2 separate regions of the Homo sapiens genome follow, and region 2 is linked to region 1. Evidence: promoter capture Hi-C in human tissues and cell types (Jung and others, 2019). All regions are on one chromosome and are shown on one strand. The core of a region is centred on a gene start or on the middle of the fragment in contact, and the rest is flanking DNA. Distances in the headings are between cores, read along the strand shown.

What was found. Contacts are between HindIII fragments. The study calls those that stand out against the background at their distance.
Region 2: a contact is called between a fragment that was not itself captured here and the fragment with the promoter of CYP3A43 in region 1, in 1 of the 25 tissues and cell types used here (liver).

Annotation. Positions count from the first base shown.
Region 1 is chr7:99,826,526-99,833,186 of GRCh38, forward strand. CYP3A43 (cytochrome P450 family 3 subfamily A member 43) reads left to right here and starts at 1,488. Exons shown (of 13, transcript NM_057095.3): 1 at 1,488-1,661. The coding sequence starts at 1,591. The HindIII fragment of the contact is 7,263 bases long and covers 1-3,380 here.
Region 2 is chr7:99,789,408-99,796,960 of GRCh38, forward strand. No RefSeq gene overlaps it. Among named protein-coding and RNA genes, the nearest start is that of CYP3A4, 9.0 kb to the left of the region's middle. RefSeq lists a promoter at 1-7,293, enhancers at 459-742, 801-2,599, 2,482-2,496, 3,601-5,230, 5,231-6,156 and a cis regulatory region at 2,033-2,053. The HindIII fragment of the contact is 3,979 bases long and covers 320-4,298 here.

The DNA.
Region 1 (6,661 bases), core at 238-2,737:
AAACTTGAAAAACTGCCAGAGTACCTGATAGTGATTGATCAGAGACAGAGCCACCGAATTACCCGATGGCAGGCCTTAGAGACCATGGCCTTAGGACCTAGGTTATGCATAGCCCTCACCTTAGGAAGGGGTCCCTTCAAGGGCAAATAAAATGCGATAGTCCTTGCAACACTGAAGCATGGAGTATCCTGTGAGGCATGAACTTGCTTGATGCAGCATGAATGCACCCCAAGAAACATGGGCATGCCCCTCCAAGTGCAAGCATACCCCACAAGTGGGTAGCCATAGAGCCAGAAGGGCAGGTTCCCTGAAAAAAATAAAGACCTCAAGACCTCATCCTAAATGTGAGATCTTGGATGTAAGAGGATTTACTGATTTTTCCACAAAACAGCCAGGCCAGGAAGATAACTGAGCTTAGAGGACTCTTGCTGGTGCCAATGCATTGATTAGTCCAGATGACAAGGGAGAGGATCTTGAGAGCCAATTTTGATCCCTTCCTCATCACCAGGAAATATGAGTAAAGATTGTGGGATCTGTGGAGGACAGAGGGAGAGCTTCATTTTCTATAAAACACAGTCTGCAGATTGAGGAGATGCAGCCTCGGAGGTGGAGAGCTATAAAGTCAAAAACCACAGAGCAGGATAGAGGAGTCAGAGGAGTGAAGAAAAGAGTCTTGATTAGACAGCCTTTAAGCCCCAAGTCACATGTCTCTTAATTGGCTGTTCCTAGGTGGTCAGTTAGTTCTTACCACATGATCTGTTGGTGAGCAGTTGGAAAATTCCCAGGTACAGATTTTTTCAGAAAATGTTATTTGACTTGGCTACAGAAAAATAGGTTTTGCAACACTTACTAAGAACACAGAGAACATGACCATCACCTAAACCTGCCATGGCCTCTTGGGTTTGTTTTTGCTTTTGAGGCACAGGGAGTCCTTCTTGTCTGTTTACCTGGAGGCATGATTTGGCAACCTAGATAACAAACAGAGATAGGCTTTCTAAAAAGAATTATTTTTATTTGGGAATAAAGCATTGCAATGGGAATATGCGTGCCAAGGTAAACTATGTGCTTATTCAGGTAGGTAAAGTAAGACAAAGTTTAAAAAAATAATGAGAAGGATTACATATTTGTTTTGGAATGATTATCCTTGGCTATAAAGATCAATAACAAGACTGACATCAGTTTGAGGTTGGACAGGCAGTTGCTGGGCAGATGTTCTTGCAGAAGTATTTTTCTTTAGGTTCCTGAGAATCTATAACCTTTGGGCTTACCAATAGCAGTGACTGATTTGTTTACTGATTGTTCACAGAATAGGAAATCAAAGGAGGCCAAAATAAGGACAGCCATAATTATTTGCCAATTGTCAATTTGAAAAGGGTACCCAAATCCCTCCATATGAGGAGTAGCATAAGTGGCTTTTCTACTGGCTGCCGCTGTAGACCCACCTCCTTCTCCAGCACATAAATATCGCTGTTAACATTAACTAAATCACCTCTGGGCAGAGAAACAAAGCTCTATATGCACAGCCCAGCAAAGAGCAGCACACAGCTGAAAGAAAAACTCAGAAGACAGAGCTGAAAAAGAAAACTGGTGATGGATCTCATTCCAAACTTTGCCATGGAAACATGGGTTCTTGTGGCTACCAGCCTGGTACTCCTCTATATGTGAGTAACTATGCAGGCATGTTTGCTCTTAACTCTAAGACCTGAAGTGCTAATTGGGCCCATCTTTTTCTTATTTGTTTTGAAGATAAAAGAGATAACGGAGGGGAAGTTACCTAAGTGCCAAATACTGTGAACACATAAAATATTATTAATATGTTAGGACTCCTAATACAACATTTGAAAATGTAAAATTTAGTCTGGGTGCGGTGGCTCACACCTGTAATCTCAGCACTTGGGAGGTGGAGGCAGGCCAATCACAAGGTCAGGAGTTCAAGACCAGCCAGACCAACATGGTGAAACCCCTTCTCTACTAAAAATACAAAAATTAGTCAGGCATGGTGGCACACACCTGTAATCCCAGCTACTTGGGAGGCTGAGGCAGGAGAATCGCTTGAACCCAGGAGGCAGAGGTTTCAGTGAGCGGAGATTGCACCACTGCATTCCAGCCTGGGTGACAGAGCAAGACTCCGTCTCAAAAAAAAAAATAAAACTTTGTCATACTGAGTAGTTTGAACTAAAGAAGACTGAAAGACTTCACAAATGTCTTCAGAATCTCTGACCCTCTTCTGTCTACCCATCCCCCATTCTTTCCCTCCTGAAGTGCAGGGTTGCTCTGAAGTTCTCTTATCTGACTAAGGGAAGATCTTCCAAAAAGAATGCAATTGTCTTGAGCCTCTCCAAATAATCTCATCAATCAGAAAACTAATTCACAGGAAAAGAGAAAAAGTTTGATAATACTTATTCTTTGGAGCACTGCTACCTGAGAGACTTTATCTCCACAATAAAATAACCTTTGTTCATCATGTGTTTTCTCCCTTCACCTTCCCATAACTTGTGTCAGAAACTCCCTATCAGAAGCCACTCCCTACTTTTTAGCTTACAATGCTATTTAAGCTTTACTCATTCAGTCCTTATTTTAGTCTCATATATTGTGGGCCTCCAGCACATATGCATGTAAAATTTTGTATGGATTTTCACTGTAACCACCCAAGAGATTCACCTTGCCCCCTGCCTCAACAGAGCCCATTCATCAAGACAGGGGAATTGTAATAGAGAATGAGTTAATACATGCTGCCAACAAAAAGAGCCAAACTCTGTACAATACTTGAAGAGATTTATTCTGGGCCAAATATGAGTGACCATGGCCCATGACACAGCCTTCAGGAGGTCTTAAGAACATGTACCCAAGGTGGTCAGGGTGCAGCTTGGTTTTATTCTTTTAGGGAGGCATGAGATATCAAATACATTTAAGAAATACATTGGTTTGGTCCACAAAGGCAGGAAATGTGATTTTTGCAGAATTCTTTGTGATAGAGCAGACTCCAGAGAAATTGCAACAACTTAAAGTCTTTCAGATCTGGCCCTAAGGAGCTATAGGAGAGAAAAAAAATCTGTCAGATCACCATTGCCTACCTCTACTCCAACTGGAGCTGTTTCAAAACCAACATGTAGAAATCTTTTTGTCTGGCTGCCCTGTGAACTCAGAAACTAGTCTGCTAAATGATTAACTTTTGGTCTCCTTTTGCTTTGGTAGAATGACCTCTTATTAAGTACCTGTTTAACTGCACCATATACAGACCTATCTTTCATGACAGCAGACCTGCAACATCACCTCCTGAAATGAGGCACAGCTGTTTAACTGGATTGACATTGCTAGGAATGTGAGACTGGTTTATACTGGTTTAATGTGATTCCTTGCGACTCAGCTACCAATTCAATTGTCCTCTCCACAAGCATCAACTCAGCTTTAGTATGTACATTTTCTAGGGAAGTTTATGACAGGGGAAAGTTGGGGCTCCAAAAATGAAACCCCAAAATATGGCACTTAAGCATGTTGAGGACTTTGAACCAAAGGAAATTGAAAGGTCTCAGAAAGTCTTCAGAACCAAGCTAACTCTTATGTTCTCCTGTCTCCCAACCCTGCTATTTCTCCCAAAATATAGGAAGGGGCTTTCTCTGAAGTTCTCATACCTAAAGGAAGATCCTCCTAAAAAAAAGCAATGGTCTTGAGCCCCCTCCCTATAATCTCATGAAAAAGAATCTTAGCAGGGCCAGGCATGGTGGCTCATACCTGTAATTCCAGCACTTTGGAAAGCCGAGGTGGGTGGATCACGTGAGGTCAGAAGTTCAAGACCAGCCTGGTCAACATGATGAAACCCTGTCTCTACTAAATATACAAAAATTAGCTGGGTGTGGTGGCAGGTGCCTGCAATCCCAGCTACTCGGGAGGCTGAGGCAGGAGAATCGCCTGAACCCTGGAGGCAGAGGTTGCAGTGAGCCAAGATTGCGCCATTGCACTCTAGCCTGAACAACAAGAGCAAAACTTAGTCTAAAAGAAAAAAAAAAGAAAAAAATAATATTAGCTCACAGAAAGGGAGACTAAGGTTGATAATACTTGTTCTTTGGAGCACTGATGCCTGACAGACATTATAATAAGATGACTTTTGTTTATCATGCTTTTTCTTCCCTCACTCTCTCATGTCTTGTGTCACCCACTCCCCATCAGAAGATACTACATTTTTATAGCTCAGAATGCTATTTAAGCTTCAATCATCAGGCCATTCTTTGAGTATCATATCTTTCAAGGCTCCCATGCATATTCATGAGATAAATTTATAAGGATTATCTCCTATTAATTGATCTACTGTTAGTTCATTTCTCAGACTCAAATATCAAACCTCCATAGAGGAATGTTCTCTTGACCCTACAGATGTTACACAGATCCGTTGAAGAAGTAAATAAACATTATCCACCTCCTCTTCATTCAACTTCCAATTTCTGTTACTAAGAGTGTTTACTGACATCATTCAATCCTGGGGATGCTTTCTGATTGACTATGAGTTTTGATCTACCTAGACTAACAACCAGAATTTAGCATGGGCAGATAATGGATTATAAACAACTGGAAACCCAAGAGGTTATTTTCGATGTGTGAGTAGGAAAAGATCCCCAAAGAGGGAACCAAGCTAACAGCTGGGCCTGGCCAGGGTGCCACTGTGGGGTCCTTCAAACACATTCTCTTCATGCAATTTTTCAGCTTTATCACATTTTATAAGATTTATTTATTTGTACTGAATATTTAGGATCTAAGAAAAGCTAACCTATAAAGAAGAGAAATCAAGTTTCTAATTCAACTGTCTGGAATATTTTATGGTTACTTATGCTATGTAGCACAGTGAAACTTTTCTATCAACAGAAATGTTCCTGAATTTTGGAAGACCTCTCTTTCAGCTGAAAGCACATAAGGGGCATTTAAAACTATTTATGCATACCATAATTTTCAGCCACACTTTCCTAACTTACCCTTATAGGGCCTACTTTGTGGCACCAGCAGTTGCATGGTTACATCGGCGGGATGCAGCCTCTCTTTTTCCTCCAGTCTTCCATCCCTCAGTAACACCAGAGTGGGAAGTTCTGCAAGGATCCAGAACCTGCAATTGATGGAGTTCACACATAACCCATCAAAGATGAGTTGCAGGCAGGCCTGCCATAAGGAGCACCAGACTTAATGGGTTTTCCTGCAGGATAGTTGATGTACAGAAGCAGTAAACTGACTCTGTGTGACTGATCATTTTGAGAAAAAAAAAAAGTGAGCATGACTGGCATTGTGCTTATCAAGTAAGGATCACCAGTTGGAGGGCCAGATTGCACAAGAGGAGGAATGGCCTTGAAATTTATTCTTTAGTCATTGGTTCCTCTGCATAGTGCCATTCAGAGAACATATAGGTCAATCACATTTACTGTAGTTTATATCAATCAAATCATCTGACCACAGAGATTTGGGTGTAGCTGGAAGGTGCTCACATTTCTATGAAGCCAGTGGAAGCCTTGAATATGGTTGTCATTCCATAGAAATAAGAACACTATGATTCTTCCAGAGCTCCTCTGTGCAGGAATGTTTAAGGATGGCCAGATCCTAAAACAAGGTCAGTGTTTAGAGGGAAGGAAAAGCATAAACACCTCTGAGAAAACAGGAAAGAAGGTGTCAGCAAAGGGCCTCAGTAACCCTCTGTAATTCAATGGATGTAGTGATACACAAACTCATTATTAGTTCAAAAGATAAAAAAAAAAAACCTCACCTAGTGATATGGTTTGGCTCTGTGTCCCCAGCCAAATCTCATCTTGAATTGTTATCCCTATGTGTCAAGGAAGGGACCTGGTGGGAGGAATTGGATCATAGGGGTGTTTTCACCCATGCTGTTCTCATGATAGTGAATGAATTCTCACAAGATCTGATGGTTTTAAAAGTGTGGCACCTCGACCAAACACCGCATGTTCTCACTCATAGGTGGGAATTGAACAATGAGAACACATGGACACAGGAAGGGGAACATCACACACCGGGGACTGTTGTGGGGTGGGGGGAGGGGGGAGGGATAGCATTAGGAGATATACCTAATGCTAAATGATGAGTTAATGGGTGCAGCACACCAACATGGCACATATATACATATGTAACAAACCTGCACGTTGTGCACATGTACCCTAAAACTTAAAGTATAATAATAATAGAAAAAAAAACAAAACAACAAAACAAGAAAAAAAAAGTGTGACACCTCTTCTCTCTCTCTCTGTCTTTCTCTCTCTCCTGCCTCCATGTAATACATGCTTTGCTTCCCCTTCACCTTCCACCATGATTTTAAGTTTCCTGAGGCCTCCCCAGCCATGGAGAACTGTGAGTCAATTAAGCCTCTTTTCTTTATAAATTACCCAGTCTCAGGTAGTTCTTTATAGCAGTGTGAAAATGGACTAATACACCTAGAAAGAGAATTTCCAAATCAGGAAAGAATCAATTAACTAAATAGACATACGTGAATGAAATGCCCTGGAAGAATTCCAGTCTGAACCTCTTAAGGGCACTCAAATTTGGGAACATTTATTAAGCATTCACTCTAGCACTGGGATCATGCAGACTTCAGCTGCTTTTAGTTAATCATTGTGACTTTTTGGGGTCTCACAGAGGAGGCAGCAAAAAAGATGAGGATTGAAATGTAGTGGGA
Region 2 (7,553 bases), core at 1,059-3,558, 36 kb before region 1:
TTTCTACTCCATTCTAGAGTGTCTATTTCTTGATAAAGTAACCACTAACATCTCCATGGCACTTCACAGTTTATACAGTTCTTTCCCAACTCTCTTAACATCAGCAAGAAAACTTTGTAAGATGAGTAGTGTTAGGATGATTTAACTCATACTTTATAGACATGGGAACAGACAGCTGGAAAGAGACTTGCAGAAGTGACTATGCCATGAAGCCAAGGCATGGAGCAGGATGCTGTGATTACAAATTGTGCCGGTAGCATTCTTGCTGGGATTCCAAGGAGGCTCCTAAAATAACTTGGCAGGTTGTGTCAGCCACACATGTGATAAATATTTCTCTCTACACCTCCCAGCACACTGCCAGTGTAGTTATAAAATGCTACAGAGCTGGTTGTGACCACGAAAACGACATGTGCATCCTACACTTTACTAAATTGTGTATTCAGTGAACTCATGGTTTCAGCAGAAAGGCAAATGTTGCAAATAATTCTGACATGTCACAATCAGAATCATTTGTGTTTCCAGGAAAGCAAAAAGTAAAAGGTGATGAAACCAACAGGTAAAAGAGAAATCAGAGAATGTGAGGCAAATTTCAGAAGAGCACGTGGAAGGGAATTAATGAAACAGGAAATTAGTGAAGGAAATGAAGATCATCATGAGATGTGTTACAAAACGTCAGCACAACCTACACCATTTCTCATACTCCTTATTTCAGTAACCCCCTAACTTGTTTTGCCTGACCCTGGGCAGGACTTATCCAGGGAATTCCCTACTCAGCCACCAGAAAGCGTCTTGAAAAACATAGATCTTGAAACATGTTTCTTTCCTTGTCTTCAGTCCCTCCAACTGCTCCTATCACCCACAGGATAAAATCTAAGTATCTCTAGGAAGTAACACAAGACCCTTTCTGATCTGGCCACTGTTAGCTTCTTCATTCGGTCTCAGTCCACTTTTCCAAGTGTGCATGATGTTTTAAGCAAATGGTGTGACTGGACACTCCTCAGGCTCTACAAAAATGACATATCCGTGTCTCCTTGTGTCCACACAAGCTGTTCTTCAGCATAGAGTGGGTCCAACCCAGCTTCCATCTGGTGCATTCCTAACCATCCTTCAGGAGTCAGCCAGGGCATCATCTCCCCAACAAGCCTCTTCCATGACCTCAGCAGGCAGGTGCTGGAGAGGGTCCCACTGGTGCTTTCTCACAGTTCCAACAGCTGAACACACAGTGGCTGTCATCCTGGGATGCTCACAGCATTCACATGCATGGGGAGCTTCTAAAAACCACAGGTTCACTGGGTGTGGTGGCTCATGCTTGTAATCTCAACACTTTGGGAGGCCAAGCCGGGCAGATCATGAGATCAGGAGTTCGAGACCAGCTTGGCCAATATTGTGAAACCCCATCTGTACTAAAAATACAAAAATTAGCAGGGTGTGTCGGTGGGTGCCTGTAATCCCAGCTACTCAGGAGGCTGAGGCAGGAGAATTGCTTGAATCTGGGAGGTGGAGGTTGCAGTGAGCCAAGATCGGGCCATTGCACTCCAACTCCAGCCTGGGTGACAGAGTGAGACTCCGACTCAAGAAACAAACAAACAAACAAAACCCCCACAGGTTCCTGGGCCTACCAGAAATGAGAAGGGCTTGCCCAGGGGCCTAACAATGAGGAGGCAGGGACCATTGAGGGCCATCTGGAGAGAATCCAAAGTGTCCCATCAATCCAGAGACATGAAAAAAAGGCATCATGCCCAACTCATTCCATGAGGGCCATAACCACATGATCCAAATCAGAAAAAAATCAGGACTGCAAAGGAAGATGGCATGCCAGTCTCATTGATGAGCATCAGTGCAAAAATCCTAAACAAAACAGTAGCAAGCCACAGACAGCAATGATCAAAGATGACACACCATGACCAAGTTGAATTTAAACCTGAGACTCAAGAATGGTTAACAGAGAAATAGTATAAATACCAATGATATCGTCAACAGGTTAAAGGAGAATGGTTATAAGATCATCTCAATGGTTTTAGGAAAAGGCTTTGATAGTTCAATAACAATATATTAATAATATATGATAATAATATTCAACTTTCATTTATGATATAAAAACCTTCAACAACTAATAGCAGGGAATTTTCTTAATCTGATGAAAGCATCTACCAAAAAAAACTTAGAGAAAACATTATTCTTAGTAGTATAAAAGCATTATGCTCTTATACCTTCTTAGTGTTTACCATGTGCACATATTACCTTTTCAAAACTAGTAACATTTTTTTTAAACAAAAAAAATCCTATCAATTAACTTACTTTTTTCTGTAATTGAAAAGAATATGATAGCTTGTTCTTGTCAGAAGTTCAGCTTGTGATTCACCTGGGGTCAACACAGGACAAGGTTTAATAATCACTGAAATAATTAAACTTTGTAATGCCTCATGAGGCTGCTTGAACCGACATGATTTCAAGGGCACCGAGAGGCTGGAGGAAAGCAGAGGGTCAGCAAGTTCATTCAGCTGAGATCATCTCAGTTTACAAACTGGGCTTTATGACCTTTAATTGGGACATGAGTTTCTTTGATAATCAAATGAAAGGAATGAACCATCTCTCTAGAATAAACCAGCAACCAGCATTTTTGCATGAAGTTCCAAGGGGACCCCAGAGAGACATGTTACTAGGAAGCTTGCCAAACCCAGTGACTTTCCAGGGGACCTGCCCACCCAAGTGCAGCCCACGCCTGACACCCAGCCCTCAATGCCCTATTCTGATCGGTTACATGGTTATCTCCAGGACCATGGGGCCCTCTCTATCAGTGTGAATGGGTTCTCCACTGTGCCCTGTGCTATGACACAACACAGGGCAACAGAACCATAAGGGAAGGTGTGAACAAGACCTTTGCAGACAGAGCCATACTGAAACCCTAGGTAGGGTACTTCACCACACGGAGGGAACTGGAGAGACACCAGGAGTTCTGGGAAGGCAGAGATAAGGGGATCTGGAACTACCTGGGGTGAAGTCTTCCTAAAGGAGTGACTGTTTGCATTATCATAGAGAAGTGTTTGGACAGAAGAAGGGAAAGTGAGAAGCATTTCAGGCTGTGAGAATGGTCCAGCTTTTTTTAGTAATAAAAAAATAGAAAACGTAGAAATTACTTTTAACTCTGTGTATTGAATACGCAAGAAATGGCATCCCAATCCTTTTCTTTACTATTATTTTTGTTATTTAGACAGTCTTGCTGCATTGCCCAGGCTGGAGTACAATGGCACAATCATGGCTCACCGCCACCGCAGCCTCCCAGGCTCAAGCAATTCTCCTGCCTCAGCCTCCTGAGTAGCTGGGACAACAGGCATGCATCACCATGCCTGGCTAATTTTTTGATGTTTTGTAGACATGAAGTCTGGTATTGAACTGACTTGCCTAGGATGGTCTTGAACTTCTGGCTTCAAATGATCCTCCTGTCTCAGCCTTGCAAAGCACTGGGATTACAGGCATGAACCACTGAGCCCAGCCACTTTATTATGAACAAGGTTGAATATTTCTGTATTTTTGACAGCTGCATTTCTTCTTTGATAAAATGTTCATGTCCTTTGCCCTTGTGATACCTGTTGGAGTTGCTTTGTTTTTCATGTCAAGCTATAATAAATATAATTTAACTGGCAAAGAGAGAAAGGCCCAGCTTAACCCTTATTATCATTGTTGAGTCATTTTTTGGTTGCAAGGTACAGTGTCTGTATCGAGGCAGTTTCAATTACTGCTAATAAAGAAGCCATCTGGCCAGGAATCATGCCAGCATGTGGATATTATACTTTTAGGGCAAAGGTTCTGCCCTCCACCGGTCAGCAAGAGGCTTAAGGCTGGCCGGGGACCCCAGATAACATCACCGGGCTTGGCAGGCACCACAGTGACCTGTTCCATGCCTGCTAGTGTATATTTCTGAGGTTTAAAATATGTATAGGGATGAAATTCACATAACATAAAATTAACCATTTTTTTATGATTATCCAATCTCAGGACTGAAAATTAACCATTTTAAGGTGAAAAAAATCAGTGGAATTCAGTACATTCTGTGTTCTGCAATCACTACCTCTATCTAGTTGCAAAATGTTCCCATCATTCCAAAATAAAGCCTGTACCAGTTGAGCAGTTTCTCCCCACTCTCCCCTCTCCCCAGACCCTGGCATCCACCATTGCACATTCTGTCTCTGTGGGCTTCCCTCTTCTGGATATTTTGTATGATGCAATATATGGACTTTCGTTTCTGGCCTTCACTTCATAGTAAAGTGAGGCTATCCATTCTGTAGCATGTGTTCATCCATTTTTTTTGCGGTTCATCCATTCTGTAGCATGCGTCAGTACTTCATTCCATTTATGGCCGAATAATATTCCATTGTATGGATAGACCACAATTTATTTATCCATCCATCGATGGACATGTGGGCTATTAGCACCTTTTGGCCCTTGTGAATTGGACTGTTAGAAATATGTGAGTCCGTGTATTTTAGTAACTGTTTTTAATCCTCTCAGATCTATAACTTAGAGGGGAATTGCTGGGTCACATTGAAATTCTGTTGAACTTTTTGAGGAAACTCCAAGCTGTTTTCCATAGCAGCAGCACCGTATTACATTCTCACCAGCAATGGGTGAGAATTCCAATTTCTCCATGTTCTTGTCAACACTTGTTATCTTCCTTCAAAAAAAAAATAGCCATCTGAGTGGGTGTGAAGTGGTAATTTTTCTGGGATTTTGAATTTGTGCAACCACAAACAATTAGGAACCTGTGAGAAGATGCCAGAGACAGAGGAGGACAAGAAAAAGGTGTGGCTGGGAACCTGACGCAGGTGGTCCCTGGGCTTTCTATTTTTGTTTGTTTGTTTGTGTTTGTTTTTGTTTTTGAAATGGAATCTTGCTCTGTTGCCCAGGCTGGAGTGCACTGGCACAATCTCGGCTCACTGCAACTGCTGCCTCCTGGGCTCAAGCAATTCTTGTGCCTCAGCCTCCCAAGTAGCTGGGATTAGAGGCATGCACCACCACGCCCAGCTAATTTTTTGTATTTTTAGTAGAGATGGGGTTTTGCCATGTTGCCCAGGCTGGTCTTGAACTCCTGAGCTCAGGTGATCTGCCTGCCTCGGCCTCCCAAAGTGCTGGGATTACAGGCAGGAGCCACCGTGCCCAGCCAGGCTCCTGGGCTTTCTATGGACTCCAGAGACATCTCGTTCTGTAGAGAGAAGACAGTGAGTAGGGATCCTTGGAATATGACTGACGTGCAGGCCCTGTCTGAGTTATTTAAACTTCCTCAGCCTCAGTTGCCTAATCTACAAAATGGGTGTTAATAATTCTGTCTTTCCCTCCCAAAGGAGCTCAGAGGAGACCAGACCCTGGCCTGTGATCTGCAGTGGGCTTGGGACCTAGATCTGCAAGTCTGGCTGGTGTTGGCTTTGACTAGAGAGAACGGGGAATATTACCAAGCCTAGTACCTGACTCTTGGCAGTCCTTCCATAAACGTTTGCTCAATATGAAAACAGTTAGTTCAGTAGTTGCCGAGAGACAGGACAAGAGTTATAGAGTAACCCGACATTACATAACGTATTTTCTTTTTATCAAGAAGGGGAGACATGAGTTCAAGTTTTACTGAACAAATAATTGAAAGGTTGGGCGCTTGCTAAGCAGGGTCTCTGAGCCACAGAGTGACCTACGGAAGGGAGCATTGGAGAAGGCAGGAATTGGAAGGTGGGAAACAGCCAGATCAGACCAGACATGTGATTAGGAGGAAATGAAAGGACAACTGGAACATATTGTCAGAATGAAGTCATCACAGTAGTCCAGACCCCTCCAAATCTGTTGTTTACTCACGTGACCGTGGGCAAAATCCTTTTACTCTCATTCCCTATCTAGCCATTAGAACCACATGTTCTTGATGCCCAGGATTCTATGAGCTAAGTTCAAAGCTTCCAAGGTTGCAGACCACGAGACAGAGATAAAATGCAGGCATGGTGGCTGAGATCAGCAGCCAGCTAAAATATGTTGCAGTTTAAATAATACCAGCAGTGATGACACATATCTAATATTTTCCTACCATCTTACTGGCATAATCCTTGTTGAATATTAAACAATTAACTCAACTTTGCACATGAACTTCAGGAAGTTCAGATTCTAACGACTACTGCAGACAGGTTGAGAATATGAGTAGGCTTACCCCAAAACACATTATTAGGGTCAATTCCAGTGCCTGCCATTGAAAGTCAAGGTTTCTTTGACAGGTTTAATTCTCTCAGAATATGTATCAAAGTAGAACCTGAAAGACAGCTACTTACATGCCCAGAAATTATTATTATTATTAATTATACTTTAAGTTCTGGGGTACATGTGCAGAACGTGCAGTTTTATTACATAGGTGTATATGTGCCATGGTGGTTTGCTGCACCCATCAACCCGTCACCTACATTAGGTATTTCTGCTAATGCTATCCCTCCCGTAGGCCCCCACTCCCCGACATGCCCCAGTGTGTGACGTTCCCCTCCCTGTGTCCATGTGTTCTCATTGTTTAACTCCCACTTATGAGTGACAACATGCAGTGTTTGGTTTTCTGTTATTGTGCTAGTTTGCTGAGAATGATGGTTTCCAGCTTCATCCATGTCTCTGCAAAGGACATGAACTCATCCTTTTTTATGGCTGCATAGTATTCCACAGTGTATATGTGCCACATTTTCTTTATTCAGTCTATCATTGATGGGCTTTTGGATTGGTTCCAGGTCATTGCTATTGTAAATAGTGTTACAATAAACATAAGTGTGCATGTGTCTTTATAGTAGAATGATTTATAATCCTATGGGTATACACCCAGTAATGGGATTGCTGGGTCAAATGGTATCTCTAGTTCTAAATCCGTGAGGAATTGCCACACAGTCTTCCACAATGGTGGAAGCCACCTCTTCCCCGAGGGGCTCTGTCCCAGGGAGATGGGGGTTTCATCTATAAGTCCCTGACTGGGGCTGCTGCCTTTTTTTCAGAGATATCCTTCCCAGAGAGGAGAAATCCAGAGAGGCAGTCTGGCCACAGTGGCCTTACTGAGCTGTGGTGAGCTCCACCCAGTTCAAACTTCCCAGCAGCTTTGTTTACACCGCGAAGGTAAAACCACCTACTCAAGCCTCAGCAATGGAAGATGCCCCCCCACAGCACCCAACCAAGTTCGAGGGTCCCAGGTCAATCTCAGACTGCTGCTGTGCTGGCAGCAAGAATTTCAAGCCAAGTGAATCTTTGTTTGCTGGGCTCCATGGGGGTGGGGCCCACCGAGCCAGACCACTTGGATCCCTGGTTTCAGCCCCCTTTCCAGGGGAGTGAACGGTTCTGTCTCACTGGCGTTCCAGGTGCCAATGGGGTATGGAAAAAAAAAAAAAAAAACTCCTGCAGCTAGTTCGGTGTCTGCCCAAATGGCTGCCCAGTTTTGTGCTTGAAACCCAGGGCCCTGGTGGCATAGGCACCGGAGGGAATCTCCTGGTCTGCGGGTTGCAAAGACCATGGGAAAAGTGCAGTATCTGGGCCAGAGTGCACAGTTCCTCAGGCTCAGTCCC